Regions from separate parts of the Homo sapiens genome. Here region 2 is linked to region 1. The links are contacts of gene promoters, found by promoter capture Hi-C in blood cells and fetal thymus (Javierre and others, 2016). All regions are on one chromosome and are shown on one strand. Each heading gives the region's core, a stretch centred on a gene start or on the middle of the fragment in contact. The rest is flanking DNA. Distances are from core to core; before and after follow the strand shown. Region 1 holds the start of TMX1 (thioredoxin related transmembrane protein 1). Region 2 holds the start of PTGER2 (prostaglandin E receptor 2).

Region 1 (7,574 bases), core at 318-2,817:
TGATTTAGCCTTCTGGGTTCTCCCTTGGGGATGTCACTTTCACTGGCCTCCTTAACTTGACAACCCTTGCTGTATTCGTGACACAAGAAAACACTCACCTGAACCCTGTTGTCTTTTCATTTTTATTTATTTACTTATTTATTTTGCTAGTTGCCCAGGATCTCTTGAACCCCTGGGCTCAAGTCATCCTCATACCTCAATCTCCTGGGTAGCGTACGCCACTTCCAGCTGAACCTTTTTAAAGAAGAAGGTGTTCTAACAACAATTATTGTATGCCTACTCTGAAGACCCAAAGAAAGCCAGCACAGCAATATCTGCATAGGTTAACTAAAGTATTTAGGTATCTTGTTACTCATTTGTAAAACGTGAAAAACACCTGTCATAGAGAATTTGTAGGGAATTAAATATGGTATTCGTGTAAAGGTGCTTAGTGGTGTCCAGTACACTGTTAATAATTATGCTTTTACTATTATCAGTAAATACTGCTAATATGTATAATACCACCATCAACAACGACTTAGCATCTAAAGCAAAGACAGATACTTTATTTCCCACCGCGGCAGAACAGATATTATTAAATTGAAATCACCACACAAAATACATGATTTCGTTCGAGCAATAAATGATGACCTGGCGCTCTTGAGAGTGTATACATTAATACATTATCTTTTAATGTAATACCATTTACAAAGACCTAGGAGTCACAACCCAAGGTATTCTCTACACTACAAAGACACCCAAAGGAAAAATGAGATGAGGAGTGAAAAAAAGAGAAAGCAAAAGAGGAGGCAAAAAGAGAAAACGAAAACTTAAAAATAACCCAACTTGAATTGACTCAGTATTTACAATAAAAAAGAAACGTACCCAATCCATTAAAAAAAGCTTAAAAGCGCCAAATTCCAACACCATAAAGAGACTATCTTTTAAGGACAGACAAAACGAGAGGAGAAATTTTGCTCAATATTCTCTTATGTAAAATGTGGTGAAAATAAGTGTAGAAGTCTGTGAAGAATCACTTTAACTACTTAGACACGAGTCGGACACCTCCCTCCCCGCGCCCCAGTCGCATCCTCAAAGTCATGAAAAATGTCAGAATTCGCATTGGCACTAACCCTTTGGGCGCACCACAACCCAAGAAACGAAACGAGGGTGCACCCCAGAAGAAACTTAACATTCACGGGTAAGAGACGAGGGGGTGGGACCAAGCTGGCGGCAGATCCCAAGAGTTTGGGGAGCTGCAGAAGTCGGGGACGCTCGCTCCGCAACTCGGAGGCGCAGTCCTGGGGAGCCTGCGACCCGCACGAGGAACGTGCGGGGTGAAGTCGTGTGTCCAGGCACGGACGTAGGACCCTGGCCGCCCCGCACTCACAATTCTATCATCCAGTCTCCTTCCAGCAGTTCTCTCCAGTTCTCGTCCGTGATGACGCGAACGTTGCTCCGCCGCCCGTGCGTCCAGGGAGCACCCCAAAGCAACAGCACCAGGACTGCCAGGGGAACTGCAAGACTCCCGGAGGGCGCCATTTCGCCGCTTGCCCACCTCACAGGGAGCGCGGTCGCAGCTCCCACTTCCGCCCTCGCGGGCTGCTCAGCGCAAGCGCACTACGGTGCTGCGAGGAGCGCCTGTCTAGAGGACTCTCAATGCGCATGACAGGGGTCTGATCCCAGTGAGTGGTGAAGTCGGGAAAGAGGGAAGAACGACTCTCCGCAATGCGCATGACAGAAAAGCGGCTGCTTCTACCGCCTAGGGTGTCCCAATATTGTGGGGGAAGGAACAGAGCAAAAGGAGGCGTGGTGTAAAAAGTGGGGCGGTGCTTTGAGGAAGAACGGTTTAAAAGACCCTCCCAGGATTTTGGCGCCAAATGGTTAGCGTTTACAAGCAAATTGGTAAGTTTATAATGTGCTAAAGCAGTTTTCCAATTAAATGTCCTTCAGAGTTCTCATTTGTTTTCTTTGAAACATGTAGTAAAGCTAATGGATTTTATAGGAGTCGGAATATTGGTTTACTTCTGAGAGATTATAGACAGGGAAGGTGCAGAGGAACATTATGGTTATGTTGGATGTGTTGGAGGTGTTCAACATCTAGATATGAACAGTAGTTACATGGGCGTACGTATATGATTTTTTTTAAAGAAGGATCAAGCTGTACATTTTAAGACAGTGCACTTTATGCACTTTCAGGTGTATGTTATCTCTCAAAAAAAATTCAGTAGGTACAGAGATCCTAGGTCAGTACTTCAAAATGGAACCAGACACATAGGCTTGTAAGATATTTGAGTTTTTTCTCTCAAACATTCGTAAATACAAATGCAAACCAAAATGTGCACTGCCCCATCAGTCAAATGAAAATAGTTGCAGGTGCGGTGGCTCACGCCTGTAATCCTAGCAAAACAGGGAGGCCAAGGCAGGCGGATCACTTGAGGTCAGGAGTTTGTGACCAGCCTGACCAACATAGTGAAACCCCGTCTCTACTAAAAATACAAAAATTAGCCAGGCGTGGTGGCAGGCGCCTGTAGTCCCAGCTACTCAGGAGGCTGAGGCAGGAGAATCGCTTGAACCCGGGAGGCGGAGGTTGCAGTGAACCGAGATCATTCCACTGCACTCCAATCTGGGCTATAGAGAGAGACTAAGTCTCAAGGAAATAGTTGCCACTATCTTACCTCACCTTTTCAACTTAATTAACCCCAATTAGTCCCCTTCCCCACCCCTCCACTGAATAGCCCTCTCAAGGACACCAGCGACCAGCAAGATAAATCCCAATTGTTTCTTCTCAATGCATCTAGCATGACTCCTAGCCCCATTCTACCACACCCTTGAAACACTTTACTATCTTGCTGTCTGGGCAGCTCGCTTTTTTTTCTGTCCTACAGTAGCTGATTCTTCTCAAACTTCTTGGCTGGTCCTCCTTTACTTCCGGACATCGGCATCTCCAGGATGCTTTACTGCCCCCCGCCCCCCATCTCCCGCCACCTTTCTCTTCATATCATCAGGCTCTCATCTTTCTGGGAACTACAGGCATATGTATTCAACTGTATATCATTCAGACTCTGATCTTTCTGGGAACTACAGGCATATGTATTCAACTGTATATCATTCAGACTCTGATCCTTCTGGGAACTACAGGCATATGTATTCAACTCCTTGCTAAACATCTCTTGGGTATGTAATAGCTGGTGAAAGGAAAAGAAATCTTGGGGCCCCAAAATCATTAAGCTAAAGGGAAAAGTCAAGCTGGGAACTGCTTAGGGCAAACCTGCCTCTCATCCTTCTTCTCACTGAGATAAATGCATATCTGATTGCCTCCTTTGGAAGGCTAATCAGAAACTTAGAAGAATGCCACCATTTGTCTCTTACCCACCTATGACCTGGAAGCCCCTTCCTGGCTTCGAGTTTGTCCCGCCTTTGCTTTGAGTTGTCCCACCTTTCCAGGCCAATACAATGTTCATCTTACATATGTTGATTGATGTCTCATGTCTCCCTAAAATATATAATATAAAATCAAGCTGTGCTCCACCCACCTTAGGCACATGTCCTCAGCACCTCCTCAGGCTATGTCATGGGCGCGCATTCTTAATTTTGGCAAAATAAACTTCCTAAATTGACTGAGACCTGTCTCAGATTTTGGGGGTTCAGAAGCTCAAACATCAAACGGCCAAAAAAGATAATTCTTGATTCTTCCTCTCCTGGTCTTCCATCCACTAAAGAGCCCCGAGGTTCACCAGGTTTCTCTAGCCAAACATGTACATGTTAATTCTTTATTGTTCTCTCTCTTCACCTTCTCCTCTTGTAACCTATGAGCAAATCTTGTAAACGTTACCTTCAAAACGTATCCTGAATCTGACCACCAATTTCCATCTCAACAGCCAACACCCTAGTCCAGAGTTTTCTTGCCTTGAGTACAATGAGAACTTCCTAAATTTGTGAGAAAATAAATTTCTATTGTTTAAGCCACCCAGTCTATGATATTTTATTATGGCAGCCCAAGCTAAGACACTAGACCTCCATTACAATGTTGAATAGAAATGGCAAGAGTGGCCAAACATACTTATCTTGTTCCTGTTCTTAGGAGAAAAGCGTTGTCTTTTACCACTAAGTATGATGTTAATGTGAATTCTAAATAGTTGCCTTTTATACAGGTGAGGAAGTTTCCTTCTATTCCTAGAAGGTCGTCTGTTTTTATCTTGAAGAAGTGTTGAATTTTGACAAATCCTTTTTCTGCATTTATTGAAATGACCATGTGGTTTTTGTCCTTTACTCTATTGATATGGTGTTTTTTTTGTTTTTTTTTTTTTTTTTTTTTTGAGACGGAGTCTTGCTCTGTCATTAGGCTAGAGTGCAGTGGTGTGATCTCAGCGCACTGCAACCTCCGCCTCCTGGATTCAAGCAATTCTCTTGCCTCAACTCCCGAGTAGCTGGGATTACAGGCACGTGCCACCACGCCCAGGTAATTTTTATATTTTTAGTAGAGACGGGGTTTCACCATGTTGGCCAGGATGGTCTCTTTCTCTTGACCTCATGATCTGCCTGCCTCAGCCTCCCAAAGATACAGTGTATTACATTGATTGATTTTGGGACATGAAATCAACCTTGCATTCTTGGTATAAATCCCACTTAGCCATGGTGTATAATTCTTTTTATATATTGCCACATTCAGTTTGCTAGTATTTTGTTGCATATTTTTATGTCTATATTCCTTAGAGATATTGGTCTGTAGTTTTCTTGTAATGTCTTTGGTTTTGCTATCAGGATATAACTGGCCTCGTAAAATAAGCTGGGAAGTGTTCCCTCCTTTTCTATTTTTTGGAAGTGTTTGTGAAGAATTTGTATTAACTCTTCTTTAACTGTCTGATAGAGTCTAGCAGTGAAGTCACCTAGGCCTGGGCTTTCCTTTGTAGGTAGCTTTTAAATTACTAATTCAATCTCTTGTTATAAGTCTACTATGATTTTCTATTTCTTCTTGAGTTGGTTGTGGTAGTTTGCATCTTTCTAGGAATACGTCCATTTCATGTAAGTTGTCTAATTTGTTGGCCTAACGTTGTTCATAGTATTATAATCCTTTTTATATCTGTAACATTGATATTAATGTCCTCTCTTTATTGCTGGTTTTAGTAATTTGAGTCTTCTTTCTTTTATTTATTGGTCAGTGTTATGGTTTGGATATGGTTTGAGTTTGTCTCCATCAAAACTCATGTTGAAATTTGATTCCCCATGTGATGGTATTGGGAGGTGGGGCCTATTGGGAGGGATTTGAATAAAGGGGGTGGATCTTGTGAATGGCTTGGTGCTGTTCTTTTTTAAAAAAAATATATAGGGTATCTCTCTGTCACTCAGGCTGGGGAGAGATGGTGCAATCATGACTCACTACAACCTCAAACTCCTGGTCTCAAGTGCTCCTCCAGTTCAGCCTCCCAAGTAAAGGTGATAGCCTCAATGCTGGCCCTGGTGTTGTTCTCATAGTGAGTGAGTTCTCACTCTGATGAGACTGGATTAGTTCTCTTGGGAATGAATTAGTTCCCTTGAGAATGGGTTGTTATAAAGCCAGGATACCCCTTAGGTTTTCTCTCTTTGCACTTGTCCGCTTCCCTTTTGACCTTCTGTGCCATGTTATGACCCAGCACAGAAGACCTCACCAGAAGCCAGGGCCATGCCCTTGAGCTTCCCAGCCATTTGCACCACGAGCTAATAATCATGACCTATTTTGTTTATAAATTACCCAGCCTTCTGTTATAGCAACACAAAACAAAGTCAGTATAGCTAAAGGTTTCTCAATTTTGTTGACCTTTCCAAAGCACCAACTTTTAGTTTTGTTGGTTTTCTCTACCATTTTTCTATTCTCTTCTTGATTATTTCCTTCTTCTTTATGCTTTGGGTTTATGCCCCCTTTTACCCTGATTGTTTTAAGATGAAAGTTATGATTATTGATTTGAGATCTTTATTTTTTTAACGTATGTGTTTAAGCTCTAAATTTCCCAACCCTGCTTTAGCTGTATCCCATAACTTTTGTTTTGTTGTGTCATCATTTCATTCATCTCAAAGCATATACTAATTTTCTCTTTTGATACCCTTTTTTGTCAATTGGCTATTTAGGAGTGTGTTTTTCATTTTCACGTTTGTGAATTCCCAAATTTATTTTTGTTATTAATTTCTAATTTCATTCTATTGTGGTCAGAGAACATACCTTGTATGATTTCAATCTTTTTAAAATTTATTGAGATTTGTTTTATGGCCTGGTATATGGCCTATCCCAGAGAATATTCCATCACTTGAGAAGAATTTGCATTCTTCCATCACTGGGTGTTCTATAGTTAGATGTCTGTTAGGTCTGATTGGTGTATAGTGTTGTTCAAGTCTTCTAGTTTCTTGTTGATATTCTGCCTACTTGTTCTGTCCATTGTTGAAAGTGGAGTATTGAAGTTCTCCAAATATTGTTGAATTGTCTATTTTGCTCTTCGTTCTGAAAGTTTGTGTTTCATGTATTTTGGGGCTCTGACATATATCTTTATAATTGTTATATATTCCTGAGGATTGACCCTTCTCATCATAAAATTTCCTTCTTTACACCTAGAATTTTTTATTGGTTTTATATTCATTTTGCCTGATATTAGCATAACCACTTCAGCTTTCTTATTGCTGCTATTTGTATGATATATCTTTTCCATCCTTTTACTTTCAACCATTTGTATTTTTTAATCTGAAAAGTGTGTCTCCTGTAGACAGCATATAACTAGACCTTGAGGGTTTTTGTTTTTGTTTTTATTTCTTTCTACCTAGTCTAACAATGATTGCCCTTTGATTGATTACATATTTAATCCATTTGCTTTTTTTTTTTTCTTTTTTGGTGGGGGACAGGGTCTCATTCTGTTGTCCGGGATGGAGTGCCTGGACACTCCACTTACTGGTAATGTTATTGTTTTGTTTGTTTGTTTGTTTGTTTGGCTTTTTTGAGAAAGAGTCTTGCTCTGTCACCCAGGCTAGAGTGCAGTGGTGCAATCTCAGCTCACTGCAACCTCTGCCTCACGGGTTCAAGCAATTCTCCTGTCTCAGCCTCCCAAGTAGCAGGGACTACAGGCATGCGCCACTATGCAGAGCTAATTTTTGTATTTTTAGAGAGATGGGGTTTCACCATGTTGGCCAGGCTGGTCTTGAACTCCTGACCTCAAGTGATCTGCCTGCCTCAGCCTCCTAAAGTGCTGGGATTACAGGCATTAGCTACCACAACTGGCATGTTATTGTTAATATGGTTGGATTTCTGTCATTTTACTTTATGTTTTCTATATGTTTTATGACTACTTCATTCCTCTATTCCTCCTTTACTACGTCTTTTACAATAAACACTTTCTAGTATAACATATAATCCTATAAGAATTTCTTATAGTGTATATTTTGAAAGTTTTTTTTAGCATTTTCTTTAAAGTTTACTATATATATTAATTTATCAGAATCTACTTCAGATTTATACTAACTTAATTCTAGTGGGATACAGAAACATTACTCCTATGTAACTGTTTACTCTTTCTACTTTTTGTGTTATTGTTATATATTGTATCTATGTTATAAATTCAGTAATATATTGTTAT
Region 2 (7,266 bases), core at 3,777-6,276, 1.1 Mb before region 1:
ATTAGCCAATCTCCTAGAATCTGAGTCTCAGCCTTTTATTTCATAGGTCTGTGGAGAAAAGAAAGGGAACCACATAGTTGGCCCTGGCTCAGCTCCCTTGAGCTGACATGAAGAAAAAGGTCTTTGCCATTTTATTTTTAAAGCTAACTAGTTGGAATTAAGAGGCAAAGTGGTCCAGATATTTATAACATTCTCACAGCTCTTTTATGAAATCTTAGATTAATCTTCTCATCTGTTACCCCTGAAATGAGTACTTTCTCTTGGATAGTGTTGTGGTTAGGTTAATTGGCTCAGTGCTTAAATTGCCTAGCTTTGAGTCCCAGTTCCACCACCCATTAGCTGTGGGACACAGGGTGAGTCATTTGCCTCGTCTGTACGATAGAAATCATCATACTATTTCCTACGGTGCTGTGAAGATAATGGGTTAATGCAAAAGTTAGCATTCAAAAGTCTGATTTTGTGGTCGATAATAATGACATATGAGGTTGAATTGGACTTCACTTGAAGGGACTGGGCCTTTAAAAAAAACTACAGTTTTACTTCCAAAATTTTGGAAGCCCTAGACTGGCATCTTTGGAGGAAGCAGTAATTCCAACCTGCCCAAACCTTGGGACAATGCCTGACATTAGTAGTTCTAGGTTTCTGAATTCCCCCATTTCCCTCCTCTGTCCACTACTGGAGTGCTGTGGAATAGACTGGTGTCCCACTGGGTACAGCTGTCCTCCTTGTTGCCAGTGGTTTGGTCCACTTTTGAGGGACAAAGAAAGCAGCTTGTTATCCTGAGGAAGGAGTGGGAAGAGATAGAGTAGATTGCTACTATTTTCTGGGATACAAGGAAGAAACTTACTTGGAATAGCTTATTAATAATTATTTTACATAACTAATATTTTGAATTGATAATATTTTAGATATATTGGGTTAAATAAAATATGTAATTCAATTAATTTTCTCTGTTTCTTTTTACTTTTTGTTATATGACTACTAGAACATTTAAAATTCCGTTTGTGGCTTGCATTTGTGGTTCACACTGTATTTCTATCAGATCATGTGCACTCCGTTAGAGAAACAGAAACATTTCTGAAGGCAACCATAAACCTTTGCTTCTAGAGCCCCCTGTTAGGACATGTGGAAATGATTCCTGCTTCAGGTGGGAGATTGGTATAGGCCACTTCTGACCACAATTTTAGTGTGGGCCAAGTAGAATAAAAGGACTTGGAGGAAAAAGCAACCTCCCCTGGAGGCACATGCCAAGGATTCTGAACAGCAGAATGTATGAACCAAACAGTAGCCATGAGCTTGAATTTTCAGATAAGCCCTTCAAGAAATAACTTAAATCAAGATAGTACAGCATTTCATAAAGCTTAAAGTGCTATGTAAGTGAAAGATACTAGCAATTATTCCCAATAATCTATTGACAAAATAAAATCCATCAGTGGTCAATATAAATTTTCTTACTAAGAGGTGACAATGCTTCCAATTTCCATTTTGTGTATAGTTCATCTGAATATGGTGTCATGGTAGCTCCAACAATGGAAGTCAGGGAGGCTGGCTTTCTGATTATGTTCACACTAGGATTTTCTCCGGCTCTTTGGGAATCTTTGCCAGAAGCAAAAGCAGTTTGCTGATAGTGTCAATGCTTAGAGGTGGTTTGGGGGAGCTAAAGCCCCTTCATAGTCTCCATCTGGCTCCCCCTAAGCCATAAACAGGAAATTGAAATAAAAACACAGCTTCAAAGCAAAGCTCCTACTCCCTCAACACCTTTTAGCCAGATTTCTGTGGCTAAGCCCCTTCTATCTGGCAACTCTGGAGCAGCCCTTGGCCTAATATTAACTGAGGGAGGGAAAACAATATCTATATCTATATCCACACACATATATTTGAATTTACAAAAACATAAGGCAACGATGGAATTCTCATGGTAAAAGGCCAATTTACATGAAAACAGGGCAACCTGTTGGAAACCACTACCTTTATTTAAAAAAAATACAGTTTATGCAATGGGTCAGTCATGATCAAAGAGGAGAACTTTTTCCTCTTGCTCGTGTAGGAAAGAGACTAAAAATCGTTTCACAAGTGTGTTATCACCCCAAACCCATTCCCAGGCTATTTAAGTAGCTGATAGTGGGGGATATTTTTATAAATATACTCACAAATGACAGATAAAACCCTAAGAACTGATTATCTTAATTCCCAACACCCTAAGACAGTCTTTCAGGAATAGTTTCTGATCCCCAAGCTGAATGCAAAGCTGTTTGGTGGAACTTGAAATGCTTTCTTTCATAGATATATGTTCTGCATCCTAGTGCTGACCTTCAAAAGCTGATTTAGCTCCTAACATAATCAAAAGCTCCTACCAGTAAAATAAATCAAAAGCATATAAGCCATGTGGGTTTCTACATCACAGCGTTTCTGTTGCATAAACTCCCCTGCTCAGAGTGGTATGGGAGATGCAGCCTCCCACAGTCCGACTTCATTTTATAAGAGGGCGTCTTTGAATATTCTATCTCATTCCCTCAAAGTGTAACCAATTCAGAACAGTTTCTGCCCTGACAGAGGATGGGGTAGAAGGGTGAGGACAGTGGGGACCAGGGAGAAGAGAACGTAGCTAAGGGAGTTAACTGGGCTGGGGAGGAGAGAATCATATTCAGACCTTTGGGACCCTGTGTCCCTTCCCATCCCTGAGGATGAGCACATGAAGATGTAAGAAGCAGTAATGGAGGCAGGAGATAGGATAAAGTTACTTCTCCTCCAGCTTTTACAGGTCAGACCTGTTAATAGTAGGCACTGCCCATCTCTTTTCTCCAAGATTGTGGCAGGTGGAAGTCACTATTAACTGCTTTGATGCTGCAGCATCAGTCTTGCTCTTCTGAAGATTAGGAAGTGGAGTTGCCACAACTCCCAATTCCTAGCCCCCGTAAGAGGCCAGCACATTCTCGGACATATTCCAGGCTCAGCTAAAACGTTACACTTGAGGAGACTTGAACTCACAGCCTCATATCATTTAGCAGTTAGTTAGCATCAAATAACTGCTAAAGTTGCCCCAAATCAAGGCAGCACGATGCCAGGACTTGGTCTCTTGTCCTTCAGTTCCCCAGGTAGCCCCACTCTTCCCTTCCTGAGAGGGACCAGCCATTCCTGCCTGTGGCTTTGTGCTCATCAAGTGCATAACTGTAAGCTGAAGGACACCTGTGTGTATTTCTGACAGTGACATTAAGAGCGTGTTTTGCAAGATATTACAAATGCTTAGCAAGATGTTCCTCCAAGTATTTCCTCTAGTTATCATTATGGTTTTATAAACTTTCATGGCCACAAAGAGTTACATTCAAATATATAAATTGGGAAACCTATAAACTAGATGTTTGTTGGACTTTTAGGACAAATAACAAATGCTCTAAACTTCTGCTTCAGGGACCCTTCTCATCTGGGACCATTTTCAATGGCAGCTGGAATGCTATGGGTTGGGTACTACATTTTGCCCTGGCAGGAACAGAAGGCAAGCATGGAGAACCAGCACCAGTGGATGAGAGGTACAGGGCAGCAAACTGCAGCTCCAGGTCGTCAGGCTGGAACAGTGACAGCCATCCTAAGGTGGAAGGGGCTGCCTCTTTCTCAATTACTAAGCCAAGATAGGCAACAGCGAGAAAGGGACACTGCCCAGGGCTAGGATGAGGAGATTGGCTAGCTTAGCTGAGGCCCAGGACTCCCTTTCGGACGGTCTGTATTATTGTATAAGAAACTCTAGCCTAGCAACGCCCATAAGCCAGGATAAGGAAGTGGGCTAAAGAGGAGGGGAAACTAGTGGGGAAGGCTACAGATCTTTACAAATTAGGACATATTTTTACAAGTTGCAAAAAGTTTGTAGGGCGGTGGAAAGGGTGGAGGCGTCAGGGGAGAGCATGAGAAGGCTGAGCAGAGCCGGGCTGTGGAAACGTAGGGAGTGACTTACCGTGAAAGGCAAGGAGCAGACGGCGAAGGTGATGGTCATGATAGCCAGGAGAATGAGGTGGTCCGTCTCCTCCGCCATGGACACCCTTTCCCCTCTCCTGCGGGCCCCGGGGCCGCCCCGGCCACTGCCCAGGGAAGGTCCGCAGCGGCTTCTCCGGCTTCGGCGGTGCATGCGGATGAGGTTGAGAATGACACTGAAGTTGCAGGCGAGCACCGAGACAATGAGAAGCAGCAGCAGGGTGGCGTACAGCTGCAGGTAAGCGGTCCGCCCGTGCCGGATGAAGCACCAGGTCCCGGGGCAGTACTGGACGTACTGCCCATAGTCCAGCAGCGGCAGCGAGCAGAAGAGCAGGGAGACTGCATAGATGACAGGCAGCACGGCCAGGCCCCCGGAGCGCGAGACGCGGCGCTGGTAGAAGTAGGGGTGCCCGATCGAGAGGTAGCGCTCCAGGGCCATGGCGAAGAGCATGAGCATCGTGGCCAGGCTGAAGAAGGTCATGGCGAAAGCGAAGTAGGTGCACGCGCGGCTCTCGGGCGCCAGTGCCACCAGGGTCTGGTTCCGCGCGTACGAAGCCAGTACCACTGGGCTGATGAGGCAGGTCCCGAGCAGGTCGGTGAACACCAGCTCGGTCACCAGCACGTGGAACAAGGAGAGGGAGCTCCTGCGGCCGGCGCTGCACCCCACGTCCCCCCGCCAGCGGCGCGCCAGCAGCGCCAGTGCTATGAGGTTCCCCAGCACCCCGGCCGAGAACATGACGGAGCTGATGGCTGGGCTTTCGCCTGGGGGAAGCCACTGTCGCGTCTCGCAGTCCTCAGACTGGGAGTCATTGGAGGCATTGCCCATGGTGGGGTGCCTGGAAAAGAGATGCGCCCTCCTCTCCCGGCCTTTACCTGGGAGGAAGAGGGTCTGAGAGCCGGAGCGTTCCGAGACTCAGAGGAAAAAGGGGAGGGACCGAAATCCAGAGCCCCCTTCCCGCACCCAGCGCGCCGACGGCGGCTTGCCCTGGGTCTCCCGCCGCGCGCCGAGTGGCGGCTCGGCTGCTGCATCCGAGCGGCGCTCGAGGCTCCCGCGCCTACCCGCGCCGGCCAAGGCCGGGAGCCAGAGCCTAGGGGAGCCGTCGTCTCCGCCCCCGCACTGTCGGGGGGCGGGCCCAAGAGTGCTGGCCAGGCCTTGCAAGTGCGAGTGTCCGCGAGCTGCAGGGGAGGCAGGACGCGTCACACTCGCGGGGGCGTTCCGAGTCCCTGGGGCGCGCCGGCGGGGAGGGAGAGAAGGAGTCTGAGCACCCGCTGGGCGCGGCACTGGGCAGAGGCGCGCGTGTTGCCGGTGTACTGAAGCTGCCCGCGACCGGCGGGAGCGGCGTTTCTCGCTTCCTCGGGGTCCGGTACTCGAAGCGCACGGCAGTCTGACCTCGGCTGGGAAGCGTTAAGCCCCAGCAGAGGGCTGGGAGGGAGTGCAGGAGCACTTGCGGGGTCTGCGCAGAATACACAGAAGATCGGGGCAACGAGCAAAGCAAAGCAACTCACCAAACAATGAAGTTAGGAGAACCCAATCCCGTGAAATGAGCGGAACAAGGGAATAACAGTGCAAAGGCAGCTTGAAGTAAGACCAGAATGTTTTGCTTTGTTTTTACTATTCCCAGGAAGATACACTAAGAGGTTGGGACAAAAATTGGGATGAAGCGTAAAGCAAGTGTGTCCATCCAAGGAACCAAACCACACAATGCGCACCACCGAGCGGCCTGTTGCACTGCCGCTTTGATTCGGTTACTAGCATTTCACCGTTTCCTATGTCAACAGCATAACGGATAACCACTTGTTTAAGCAACCATTAAAAAAAGAGGAGTGTGTCTTATACAGAATTGTGTTTGTGGATACAACATGAAAACCATTGCACATCACTGTTCTGTCCTTAAGCTGAGCCTTGTAAGAAAATGTTGATATTTTGTTTAGCCGTTTATCTTTACATGTTGTTAACCACGTAGTATCCATCCAGAAAGACTTGTTCCTGGCAAAGTGTATTGGTAAGTGGCCAGTTTCAGACTGGAGCTGACAGTAATGGTTTCCTACCACATATTGTCATAATTGCAGAGTCGTGAAAATGGGCTGATATTTAACACAAAACAAAACAAAACAAAATCCAGTTTGGCAGACAACATAGGTAATTGTGTTCTGTAAGAAGTCACATTCACTTGGGGAAGGGAGGCCAACTGGGAAGTGAAGGGTCTGATCTGCCTAGGGAACTGGCAAGAAAGACAGTCATAACGTGGGAGGAAGCAAAGATTGCCTGCTGAAGAGCCTATCTTGCTACAGCCTGCTTACTCTCCATGAATATTTTTTGCCAACTTTGATGATTCTGGCCTGGGGATTGGAATGCGGAGTTGGGGGGGGTGGTTCCCACTAGAACAAGCATAATTTACTGGATCGCTTGCAAAGTTTACAGGCCGGTTTTCACATGTCAGCAGGCACTACTTCAATCCCTAAACTTCTCATGGCATGGATTCCTAGGAAAGAGGATCTTAACTCCTACAGTTTTTCTTTCAAGCTGTAAACTCTGCAGGTCAGTAACAACTTATTACCAATCTTTGCCATCCATCTCTGACTATTCCCCTACTCCAACATTCCCCCATCTCACCCCAAGCAATGGGGAAACATCAAACTTAAATCAGAAGTATTTCTTAATAGGAAAACACTATGATTTATAGCATAATTCTGCACTGCAGTTTTACTATTAAATAAGGGATTTTAGATTCACTGAATTTGCACAGTGCTTATTTTCCGAATATTTTTATACCTTTTTAATTTTCATAAGGCCCCTCACAACAAAAACCTACTATTTAACCTTTCCTATATATTTGTCTCTAGCTTTTCTTTGGATGGGTACCTGGTGGCAGGCCGGCCCCTGGTTTTTGTGAATACGAGAGCAAGAGTGCAGTTGAAGATCCTCCCCCAGGCCCCTGCCCCCTTGTCTTCCTAACCCCTGACTCAGTCTTGCACCACAAGGAGTCTTGCACAGAAATATGTGGAGAGTATAGTTCAATATGTGGACAGTATAGTTCAATATGTGGACACTATAGTTGTTGATAACCAAGCTCTCTCCCCAAAGCCACCTTGGTCCTGGGAATATGCATCTCAAACATGCAAATGACCCTTGATTGGATGGACCTAGGGAAGATGCCTGATCAAGCCCTGGAAGCGAGTTATGGGACCAACATTTGAGCAGGAAATTTCATGATCTCAGGTACCTGGAAGGTGGTCTAGAATGGAGGGGTAATGGGGTCTGGGTGAATAGTGCCCTGAGGGTGTCTCACCTGTGGTAAGGTA

The links. Contacts are between HindIII fragments. The CHiCAGO score rates a contact against its expected background, and 5 or more counts as called.
Region 2: the fragment with the promoter of PTGER2 here is called in contact with the fragment with the promoter of TMX1 in region 1 in 1 of 17 cell types (activated CD4 T cells); the score reaches 5.7 in activated CD4 T cells.

Annotation. Positions count from the first base shown.
Region 1 is chr14:51,234,240-51,241,813 of GRCh38, reverse strand. TMX1 (thioredoxin related transmembrane protein 1) reads right to left here and starts at 1,567. Exons shown (of 8, transcript NM_030755.5): 1 at 1,370-1,567. The coding sequence starts at 1,521. RefSeq lists an enhancer at 1,289-1,528 and a silencer at 1,389-1,731. The HindIII fragment of the contact is 7,115 bases long and covers 885-7,574 here.
Region 2 is chr14:52,312,072-52,319,337 of GRCh38, reverse strand. PTGER2 (prostaglandin E receptor 2) reads right to left here and starts at 5,026. Exons shown (of 2, transcript NM_000956.4): 1 at 3,947-5,026. The coding sequence starts at 4,789. RefSeq lists enhancers at 4,132-4,271, 4,292-4,441, 4,676-5,235, 5,236-5,796 and a silencer at 4,962-5,071. The HindIII fragment of the contact is 17,361 bases long and covers 1,363-7,266 here.